Linked DNA regions of Homo sapiens: all the other regions are linked to region 1. The links are contacts of gene promoters, found by promoter capture Hi-C in blood cells and fetal thymus (Javierre and others, 2016). All regions are on one chromosome and are shown on one strand. The core of a region is centred on a gene start or on the middle of the fragment in contact, and the rest is flanking DNA. Distances in the headings are between cores, read along the strand shown. Region 1 holds the start of SYNPO2L-AS1 (SYNPO2L antisense RNA 1). Region 2 overlaps ANXA7 (annexin A7). Region 3 overlaps CFAP70 (cilia and flagella associated protein 70). Region 4 holds the start of LOC124902577 (small nucleolar RNA U13).

What was found. Contacts are between HindIII fragments. The CHiCAGO score rates a contact against its expected background, and 5 or more counts as called.
Region 2: a contact is called between a fragment that was not itself captured here and the fragment with the promoter of SYNPO2L-AS1 in region 1, in 1 of 17 cell types (endothelial precursors). The highest score is 5.4, in endothelial precursors.
Region 3: a contact is called between a fragment that was not itself captured here and the fragment with the promoter of SYNPO2L-AS1 in region 1, in 4 of 17 cell types (endothelial precursors, erythroblasts, M2 macrophages and 1 more). The highest score is 8.1, in endothelial precursors.
Region 4: a fragment that was not itself captured here is called in contact with the fragment with the promoter of SYNPO2L-AS1 in region 1 in 2 of 17 cell types (endothelial precursors and erythroblasts); the score reaches 5.9 in endothelial precursors.

The regions. Positions count from the first base shown.
Region 1 is chr10:73,652,721-73,655,420 of GRCh38, reverse strand. It overlaps SYNPO2L-AS1 (SYNPO2L antisense RNA 1), which reads right to left and starts at 1,382. Exons shown (of 3, transcript NR_187519.1): 1 at 1,115-1,382. It overlaps SYNPO2L (synaptopodin 2 like), which reads left to right. Exons shown (of 4, transcript NM_001114133.3): 2 at 1,141-1,292; 3 at 1,768-2,282. The HindIII fragment of the contact is 5,539 bases long and covers 532-2,700 here.
Region 2 is chr10:73,384,153-73,386,852 of GRCh38, reverse strand. All of the region lies in intron 7 of ANXA7 (annexin A7), which reads left to right. Among named protein-coding and RNA genes, the nearest start is that of CFAP70, 27 kb to the right of the region's middle. The HindIII fragment of the contact is 650 bases long and covers 1,104-1,753 here.
Region 3 is chr10:73,270,032-73,272,731 of GRCh38, reverse strand. All of the region lies in intron 25 of CFAP70 (cilia and flagella associated protein 70), which reads left to right. All of the region lies in intron 2 of DNAJC9-AS1 (DNAJC9 and MRPS16 antisense RNA 1), which reads right to left. Among named protein-coding and RNA genes, the nearest start is that of MRPS16, 19 kb to the right of the region's middle. The HindIII fragment of the contact is 2,329 bases long and covers 215-2,543 here.
Region 4 is chr10:73,299,333-73,302,032 of GRCh38, reverse strand. CFAP70 (cilia and flagella associated protein 70) reads left to right here. Exons shown (of 28, transcript NM_001367801.1): 14 at 2,368-2,428. LOC124902577 (small nucleolar RNA U13) reads left to right here and starts at 149; the gene lies at 149-252. The HindIII fragment of the contact is 2,325 bases long and covers 220-2,544 here.

The sequences.
Region 1 (2,700 bases), core at 133-2,632:
TGCCTCGAACAGCCTAGCCCAGCCCAGCCCTACCCTGCCTCACCCTGCCCTGCCCATGCCTTCAGTGCTCTTTCCCTAGGTCAGATCCTTTCTCTCACTAGGCAAGACTTTTTTAGGTGCTAGGAGGGTTATGGCAAGATCTGGCCTCACAGATGAAGTCATTATCCTTTTGGTTTCACCCTACAGGCTTAGTTTTCCGAACTGTAAAATGTGGGTAATAATAGTACCTGTACCTACTTCATGGAACCATTCTAAGGATTAAATGCAATAATACATGTAGCACAGTGCCCAACACTTAGTAAGAACTCAATAAATGGTAGCCACTACTACTATTATTACTTTGGCATATATACATTTGTGTGTATACATGGCACACATATACCCAAATAATCACAATCTCCCAGAATACCGCTGGACTCCCTCCAACCTGGAGTACTGTTCTAAAATCTTGACTGTGTAATGGCGCCTGGGGTTACAAGGCCTAGTAGAGAATTACCAGCCAATATAGATATTGCCCTTGGAGAAAAAGCTTGTGGAGATAATCACCATTTCTTTCCGTTTTTTTTCTTTTCTTTTTTTTTGCGACAGAGTCTTACTCTGTTGCCCAGGCTGGAGTGCAGTGACATGATGGCTCACTGCAACCTCTGCTTCCTGGGTTCAAGCAATTCTCCTGCCTCAGCCTCCCAAGTATCTGGGATTACAGGCGCACACCACCACGGCCAGCTGATTTTTGTACTTTTAGTAGAGACAGCGTTTCACCCATTGGCCAGGCTGGTCTCAAACTCCTGATCTCAAGTGATCCACCCACCTAGGCCTCCCAAAGCACTGGGCTTACAGGCGTGAGCCACTGCACCCAGCCAATAACCACCATTTCTAGTTACCTACCCCATGCAGTTCTTCCCAAGCCTCTTTCATTCAATGGTTACCCTATTTCCCACCATATGATGTATTTCTTTCTCCAGTCTGTATACTTTCTTCCCTCTAGACAGGCCACTTCAACTGCAGCCACTTCCATGCATCTCCCCACCCTTCTTACCCTGCAAAGTAAAATCCCCTCCTGTGGGTCCTTCCCATCTTTTCCTTTCATTCTATTCCCTTTGGAGCCCCCTCTTACCTACAGTGTCTCCTTCAACATCTCAGATTCGAAGACGGAGCCAGGCTGGCAGAGCAGGACTCCGAGAGAGGGACCAGCTCTTGGCAATCAATGGGGTCTCTTGCACCAACCTCTCCCATGCCAGTGCCATGAGCCTCATCGATGCCTCAGGAAATCAGCTTGTCCTCACTGTGCAGCGGTATGGACCTCTCTCCTCTTCTCTTCCCCTAATCCAGGGCTCCCATTGCCTGTCTCAGCTCTATGTCTCACTGGCCTGGCTTTAGCAACTAACAGGTACCTATTTCTGCTCGTGCGTTTCTGCTGGAGTGCAGATGGTTTGTGTCTGCCTCCCAGAGGGCTTGAATGTATCTGCAATTAAGGGATGGGGATGTCAGTGGGTATTTGACTGATGAGCCTACTTCAACCCCTGGCCTGTTTCCTCCTCATTACATCTTCCTCTAAGCCTATTTCCACTCACAGCCCTTCAAGCACATTTGCCTCCCAGTTTGTCTTCATATCTCCACTCTTCCCGGCCCACCCATTCCAACTGTATGACAGCCTTCTCTCTCCCTTACCTCTTCCCTCCCCCTTACCTCTTCCCTCCATCCCTTCCAGATCTCTCTAGCTGTCAGTACCCAGCCCATCTCTCAAGCTCTGTCATCTTTCCTATCCAGGTTAGCAGACGAGGGTCCTGTGCAATCTCCATCTCCCCATGAGCTTCAGGTGCTGTCACCCTTATCTCCACTAAGTCCTGAGCCCCCTGGTGCTCCAGTTCCTCAGCCTCTTCAGCCTGGGAGCCTTCGTTCACCTCCTGATAGTGAGGCTTACTACGGAGAGACTGACAGTGATGCTGATGGCCCTGCCACCCAGGAGAAGCCCCGTCGACCTCGCCGCCGAGGCCCCACAAGGCCCACCCCTCCGGGTGCCCCACCTGATGAGGTCTACCTGTCTGACAGCCCTGCAGAGCCAGCACCTACTATCCCTGGCCCTCCCAGCCAGGGTGACAGCCGTGTGAGCTCCCCGTCTTGGGAGGATGGGGCAGCCCTTCAGCCACCCCCAGCTGAGGCTCTGCTGTTACCCCATGGCCCCCTCCGACCTGGTCCTCATCTCATCCCTATGGTGGGGCCTGTTCCCCACCCAGTGGCAGAAGATCTTACTACCACCTACACCCAGAAGGCCAAGCAAGCCAGTGAGTGCCTGAACCCCTTTTCCCCAGCCAGGATCCTTCAATCTGAGCCTTAAATCCAGCCTTCTATAGCCGTACATTCTCCCTACCTTGGGACCCTTGGATACAGTCTTGGGGACAGGAGGGGTAATGAGTAGAAGGGGAGCATAATTATTCTCATGGCCACCATTATTTTTGCTGTTTGAACCAATGTGGCAAAAGGGTAAGGTGATTCAGTTCAACCCAGGAACAGGGTAAGTAGGGAAATTGGAAAGGGACACAAATAGATGAAGGGTTTGGTGGTGGTGATAATTGTTATTGTGTGTCATGATTGGGTGAAAGCAGAGTACAGACACAGGACAGGGGAGTATTTAAAAGCAGGTTGAAGGCGGGGCAAGGTGGCTCATACCTGTAATCCAAGCACTTTGGGAGGCTGAGGTGG
Region 2 (2,700 bases), core at 179-2,678, 270 kb after region 1:
CGATGACAACAAATTATATTAGCTGGGCGTGGTGGCGTGTGTCCATAGTCCCAGCTGCTTGGGAGGCTGAGGTAGAAAGATTGCTTGAGCCCAGGAAGTCAGGCTGTTAGTGAGCTGTGATTGTGTTACTGCACTGTAGCCTAGGTGACAGAACAAGACGCTGTCTCAAAAAAAAATAATATGGAAATGCTTGCCATTCTCTGTACACGCCATGATCTTTTATGCTTCTGTGTTGTGTACATGCCATTCTCCTGGCCTTGAATACCTTTTCTTTTTTTCATGGCAAACTTCTTTAAGATTTGGCTTAAATATCAGCTACTCTGAAGTTTCTTTCATTAGTCTGGACAGAATTTAGCTGCTTCTTAATACTGTAGTCCCATAGCACTTTGTAAAACCTCTGTTATTACTAATCTCACGGCCCACCCCCAAAAACTGAGCTCCCATAGGACAAACCATGGTCATAGTCATCTTTGTATTACAGTACCAAGTATATAATGGCAAGTAGCCACTTAGTACTTGTTGAATGGATGATCAGTTTCTAAATCCAACAAGATTCTATGGCTAAAAAATGCCATTGTTCCTCAGATGTAATGGGAAAACATGGATAGCACTGCTTTGCTTTTTTTTTTTTTTTTTTTACTTTTTTTTGAGACAGAGTCTCAAAAGGCTGGAGTGCAGTGGCATGATCTCCGCTCACTGCAGCCTCCACTTTCCAGGCAAGAGCGATTTTCGTGCCTCAGCCTCTCGAGTAGCTGGAATTATAGGTGTCTGCCACCACACCCAGCTAATTTTTGTACTTTTAGTAGAGACGGGATTTTGCCATGTTAGCAAGTGTGGTCTCAAACTCTTGGCCTCATGTGATCTGCCTGCCTTGGCCTCCCAAAGTGCTGGGATTACAGGCATGAGCCACCACGCCTGACCTGCTTTGCCATTTAGATAGGAATCCTAAAAATATCCTAATGTTCTCTGCATCTAGTTTATATTTCTCAGAATGGGGTAGTGGTCCATTGATTGGTCCCACCTTGCTTATTCTATTTTGCCTTTCCCTGTCTGCCCAGCCCAGTGACTGATTATGCAACACAAACCCTAGATCTCCTTAAGCTTCAACATCAGACTCACTATTCTCACAAAGATATTTTCCATGTTATGAATTTTTTATCTAGTCTGCACAATGCTGTCTCAAGTTTTTTTATATATTGCTTTAGAATTAAAACTAACAATCTAATTTCCGTACCACTAGCCACCTCTTTTCTTAACTTCCTAATTAGTAAAACACTGTTTTTCTAGCCTGCTATAGTCATCTTTGAGTCCATGTTTTTCTTTTATCATAGGGAGTATTCTGTATGCTTTGTCCTAGCAGTTGGTTATTTACTAGTTTTTATTGATCTAATCTATAAAATGGCCCTTTAAAATGTTTCTTTTGTCTACTTTGTTCCTTCTCATTTCCATTGTTACCATTCAAGTCCAAGACTTTATTACCTCTTAACTAAATATTCCAGTAGCCTAAATGTTTTCATCTATAGCTTCTTTGTCACCATCATCCATTCTGAATATTGTTGCTACATCAGTGCCATTTTCTTGCATGAAAAGTTTCCAGTGGTTCCTCCCAGCAAACAGAATCAAGTCCATATTCTTTAGCTTGGCATTCAGTGTAATAATCCAAGATTTAGTTACAACTTTGTTTTAACTCATCTATTATGAAAACCTTCCTCTGTAGCAAAACCGGTTGTCTTATTGTTCCATTGAACAAGCTTTGCTCATTCTTGGCTCTATACGAGTAATTCTCAACCTTAACTGAACATCGTAATTTCCTTTAAAACTTAAAAATACACAGAATCTCTGAGTCTTAGTCCTGGACATCAATGTTTTTCTTTTTTTTTTTAAAGCTCCACAATGAATGTAATGAAGAGTCAAGGCTGGGAACCCCTTCTCTGTTCCTTGGTGGTGTTCCTTCTTACCTGAAATACCTTTCTCCTTCGTCTTTGCATGCTAATTTTTACATTTTTCTCTGAGCTCTCCAGCTGACTTTGAACTTTTTCTGTTTCAACTTTCTCTATTACTTATTTCTATGCTACTTACCCAGTGCTAGAGTACAGGTTACCTTACATTATTTTTTTTTTAGATGTGTATCTTTCCAAATAAGAACAATATCGGCTGGGCACAGTGGTTCATGTGTGTAATGCCAGCACTTCGGGAGGCCAAGGCGGGTGTATCACTTGGGGTCAGGCATTCAAGACCAGCCTGGCCAACATGTGAAACCCCATCTCTACTAAAAATACAAAAATTAGCCTGGCGTGGTGGGATGTGCCTGTAGTCCCAGCTACTCAGGGGGCTGAGGAAGGAGAAGCGCTTGAACCCAGGAGGCAGAGGTTGCAGTTAGCCGAGATCACACCACTGCATTCCAGCCTGGGCCACAGAGCGAGACTCTGTCTCAAAAAAAATAACAACAAAAAACAAATAAGAACAAGATGATAATGGTTTCTACTTCCTCATAGAACCAAGAACAGTTCCTTTTACTAAGTAAATATCTGTTTATCATTTTGTCAGTTTGAATAATTCTTTGTTTCATATATCCCTTGTTTTTGTACCTGGTAGAGTGGAATAAGATTTTATTAAATGTTTATTGATAGAATGAATAAAATAGATCTGCTTGAGTGTAATAAATGTGTAAGTGTAACAGACTTTAAATTTATTTACTTC
Region 3 (2,700 bases), core at 130-2,629, 380 kb after region 1:
AAAAATCCCAGAAAAACCTGAACCAAGAAGCTACATAATAAAAAAAATTCATGTTATTTGGTATAGACACTCCTTTGTGATATTATCTGTAAGAAAAAGGTGATATGGGAGATGAAGAATCTATTCAAGTCAATTAAAGAAATTGATTGACACTTACTAAGCACTGTGACCCTTTGATATGCAGGAGGAGTTGCTGTAACTTCTGGCAGAAGCTTTTGCTCTGCTTCTCCTAAAAACTCTTTACTTAACCTTCCCTCATTTCCTCCAGTCTTCAAAGAGGCAAACATCCTCTTGTTCCTGCCTAATTTCTTCAGGCATATTATTGACTCCATGTCTCTCCCTTTCTTTGAATAGCTTACTCACTTATTTATTTATTTATTTATTTATTTGAGATGGAGTCTCGCTCTGTCTCCCAGGCTAGAGTGCAGTGGTGCAGTGGTGTCACCTCAGCTCACTGCAACCTCTGCCTCCTGGGTTCAAGTGATCCTCCTGCCTCAGCCTCCTGAGTAGCTGGGATTACAGGTGCCCACCACCATGCCAGGCTAATTTTTGTATTTTTAGTAGAGATGGGGTTTCACCATATTGACCAGGCTGGTTTTGAACTCCTGACCTCAAGTGATCCACCCCAAAGTGCAGGGATTACAGGTGTGAGCCACCTCACTTAGCCCCTCATTGCTGTTTTTCAGCCATAAAGATAATATGTGTTCATTATAGAAACTTTAGAAGAAGCCAGGAGCAGTGGCTCACACCTGTAATTCCAGCACTTTGGGAGGCTGAGGCTGAAGGATCTCTTGAACCTAGGAGTTTGAGAGAAACCAACCTGGGCAACAGAGCAAGACCCCCATCTCTACAAAAACATTAAAAATTAACCAGGCATGGTGGCATGTGCCTGTAGTCCCAGATACTTGGAAGGCTAAGGTGGGAGGATTGCTTGGTGGGAACACAGAAGTTAGAGGCTGCAGTGAGCCATGATTGTGCCACTGCACTCCAGGCTGGGTGACAGAGCAAAACCTCACCTCTAAAAATAAATAGACAAATAGATACAAAATATGAAGAAAACATTAAAGTATCCGTAACTCCACAAGTTGGTGATAACCACTGTTAACATTTGAATGTACTTTCCTCCCGTCTTTTTTCATATATATGAAAGCAATTTTAATGTATAAAATGTAAATATTTACTGCTTTGTAACCTTTTTTCGACTTAACAGTATAGTATTGGTATCTTCTTATAGCTCTGTCACCCAAGCTGGAGTGCAGTGGCGCCATCTTGGCTCACTGCAACCTCTGCCTCCTGGGTTCAAGTGATTCTCCTGCCTCAGCCTCCTGAATAGCTGGGATTACAGGCATGTGCCACCACACCCAGCTAATTTTTGTGTTTTTAGTAGTCACAGGATTTCGCCATGTTGGCCAGGCTGGTCTCAAACTCCTGTCCTCAGGTGATCCTCCCACCTCGGCCTCCCAAAGTGCTGGGATTACAGGCGTGAGCCACCGCACCCGGCCTGTGTTTTGTTTTTCACACATCTGTCAGTGAGCCCTTTGAGGGCAGATATTGTATTTTATTTATTTACTTGAGACAGGATCTTGCTCTGTCACCCAGGCTGGTGTACAGTGGCTCAATCTCAGCTCATTGCAATCCCTGCCTCCGGGGCTCGGTTGATCCTCCTGCGTCAGCCTCCTGAGTACCTGGGACTACGGGATTTTATTTTTTTACTCCCAGCATCTAGCATACTGCCTGACACAGAGCAAATCCTTGGCAAATGTAGGTTGATTAAATAATGAATCAATGTCTCAGAGACTTCAAAGTGTGGGCCAAAGTATGGGTGTGGGTGAAAGGCCATCTCTTGTCTTTGGCCTAGAAACCCATTATTTAATTATTTTAAAGCAGAAAAAGTAGGCTGGACACAGGTGGTTCATGCCTGTAATCCCAGCACTTTGGGAGGCCAAGGTGGGCAGATCACTTGAGGCCAGGAGTTTGAGACCAGTCTGGCCAATGTGGTGAAACCCCGTCTGTACTAAAAATACAAAAATTAGCTGGGTGTGGTGGTGGGCACCTGTAATTCTAGCTACTTGGGAGGCTGAGGCAAGAGAATCGATTAAACCTGGGAGGCGGAGGTTGCAGTGAGCTGAAATCATGCCATTGCACTCCAGCCTGGGCAGTACAGCGAGACTCTGTCGAAGAGAAGGGAAGGGGAGGGGAGGGGAGGGGGAGGGGAGGGGAGGGGAAGGGAAGGGAAGGAAAAGAAAAGGAAAAGAAAAGAGAAAAGAAAAGGGTGGCTGGGGAGGGGAGGGGAGAGGAGAGAGGAGAGGAGAGGAAAGAAAAGAGAAAAGAAAAGAAAAAAGAAAGGAAAAAAAGAGCTACTTTACTGGGGAAGGGAGAGCCTTTTGGAATGTTTTACAAAGCAACAAAGCAAACTCACAGTTTTAGGAAGCAGCAACAATTTCCACGTGCCCAGAGCCCAGAGTGCACCCTAGAGTTTCTGAATACTGCATTGATTGCTCGGGATTGGGCTGTTAATAACTGATACTAGGGGAAAGAAAGCTTTCTGGACAATAGTATTTCAACAGGCAAATCAGATTTTTACCTCAAGAAAAGGATGCACAATGTAAAGAAAAAAAACTATAAATGTATCTGACAGCCCACTGTGTGTGGAGAAATCACTGAATGATGCACACATGAGAGTGAGTTCCTGTGGATTTC
Region 4 (2,700 bases), core at 133-2,632, 350 kb after region 1:
TCCTTACATCTACCATTCTACCCTTCAATTTCTTCTTTTTTATTTTCTAATGATAGCTTTTTCGAGATATTATTCACATACCATATACTTCTCTACCACCATCACCTTTTCTTTCATTTTGTTCACCCATTTAAAGTATCCAGTTCTGATCCCTTTGTAGTTCATAAGCGTGATGATTGGGTGTTCATGCTCATACATGAGCTGTGCCTCCCTCAAGCTTTGTTGTGACATCATCATATTACCTGTCCGATGTGAACTTAGAAAAATAAAAATAAAATAAAGTGTACAATTCAGTGGCTTTTAGTATACTCACAGAATTGTGTAGCCATTCCATAGTCAACTTTATATATACTATCATTACCCCAAAAGTTGAAATCCCATGTACATTAGCAGTCATTCTCCTTTTCCTCTCAACCATCATGCCACCTCTTCCACCCTGAACCCCCAAGTCTAAGCAGCCGTTTATCTACTTTTTTTCTCTATAGATTTGCCAACTCTGGAATCATACAATATGTGGTGACTGGCTTCTTTCATTTAATCTAATGTTGTTAAGGTTTATTCATATTGTGGCATATATCAATACTTAATTTCTTTATTACCAAATAATATTTCATTGTCAAAACAGGAGCAAAAGACAGAGAGAGCAGGGAGGGAGTTGGGGGAGGTGCCACACATTTTTAAATGACCAGATCTTGCAAGCACTTACTCACTATCATGAAGACAGCACCAAGCCATGAGGCATCCACCTCCATGACCCAGACACTTCCCACCAGGCCCCACTTCCAACACTGGGGATTATAATTCAACATGAGATTTGGATGGGGACAAATATCCAAACTATGTCAGTTGCTTCCTCACTTCCCTCAGGTCTTTACTCAAACGTTAACATCTCAGCGAGGCCTTCCTGGTGAAATATGCTCCTGCATTCCACTACCCTCAACCCCCAATAGAGTCTGTCTGCCTTCCTGCATTATTTTTCTCTATGGGACATATTACTAGCATATTTATCTTGTTTGTTTATCTTATTTATTGTCTTTCTTTCCCTACTAGAATGTAAGCTCCATGAGGGTAAGAATTTTTGTCTATTTTGTTTAATGCTCTATTCCCAAACCTAGAAAACTACCTGATGGAAAATAAGCACTCAGTATCTATTTTTATTTTTTTATTTTTTGGGAGACAGAGTCTTGCCCTGTGGCCCAGGCTGGAATGCAGTGGTGCGATCTCAGCTCACTGCACCTCTGCCTCCCAGGTTCAAGAAATTCATGTCTCAGCCTCCTGAGTAGCTGGAACTATAGGCACACACCACTACACCCAGCTAATTTTTTTCATTTTAGTAGAGACAGGATTTCACTATGTTTCTCAGGCTGGTCTCGAACTCCTAAGCTCAGGCAATCCACCCGCCTCGGCCTCTCGAAGTGCTAGGATTACAGGCATGAGCCACCATGGCTGGCCTCTCAGTATCTATTTTGAATGAATGAATAACATTGTCTCTGGAGAGGAAACTAGGAGGCTGGGCAATAAGGTTGGAAGGAGATATTTTGCTATACAGTTTCGTACCTTCTAAATTTTGAATAATATAAATAGATTACCTATTTAAATAAATAGAATTAAAATTAGTAATTATGAACAGAGGTATATCATTACATAGGATCTAGTAAGAAAAATAGATTTTGTGAGTTTGATTGTGGACTTCAAGGTAGTATAATATATTTAGCAAGAACCTGAAACTAAAAGGGAGAAGAGCTATAACTTAATTCCTTCTAGGTTCTTGTAAGGGCTTCTGAAAATAGAAGGTAGAGGTTTTGACATAAGTAGTTTGACATTGACAAAATGTGGTTTTTTACTCACATTTTGGATTAAGTTTTGATAGCATTATTGTAATTTAATGCAGCCCTATAAATTATGCCAAGAGTACACTTTTATTGTAGACGGGGAGGAAAGAAGAGGTTTTGCTTGCCTATTCCACTCAGATTTCCAAATCATTCTGCTTTCAGAGATGTTACTGAGTGCCTCTAAAATGTTGACACCCATTTCTTTCCAAAACCCCAGTCAAACAGCCCTTGTATACCACAAGTTTTTAAATACGTAAGGGTAAAGCCAGGGCTCAAATTAACCAAAAATACAACTTAGATACTCCCTGAGTAGCTGCTTCCTCACCTCCCTTCTGTATGGTCCGTAGCCATATACTTTGCTGTGGTTCACATCTAGGGTTTTACATGAGAGAACAGCACAGTGCTCAAGTGCAGTGGGGGAACAGACCTCAGATCTCCCCCACCCAGACACTTTGAGGATAAGATAAAAGAAAATATACATCTGTAGATAATAAATTTTTTTTTGTTTTTTTATTTTTTTTCTTTCCTGATACAGGGTCAAGGAAATGATTCCTCCAAGGCCTCCTCTTACCCGTCGGACAGGAGGAGCTCAGAAGGCAAGTGCCAAAGCCAAGTTGAAATGATAAGTAATAAGATATTGAGTGCATGCACTTGTTAATTGCATGGACTCTTTAATATGTCTTCCAGAAGGGGTGAAAACTTGTTTGAAGCTTTACGTATTTTCATTGCTGGTTCCATTTGTGATCAATGGCATATAGCATACAGTGTTTAATCTTTGGCTGGTGGTCTCTCAGCTGGGAAGAAAAGGGCATTTTACATTTAAAGTATTACTGGGTGTGGTGGCACACACCTGTAGTCTCAGCTACTA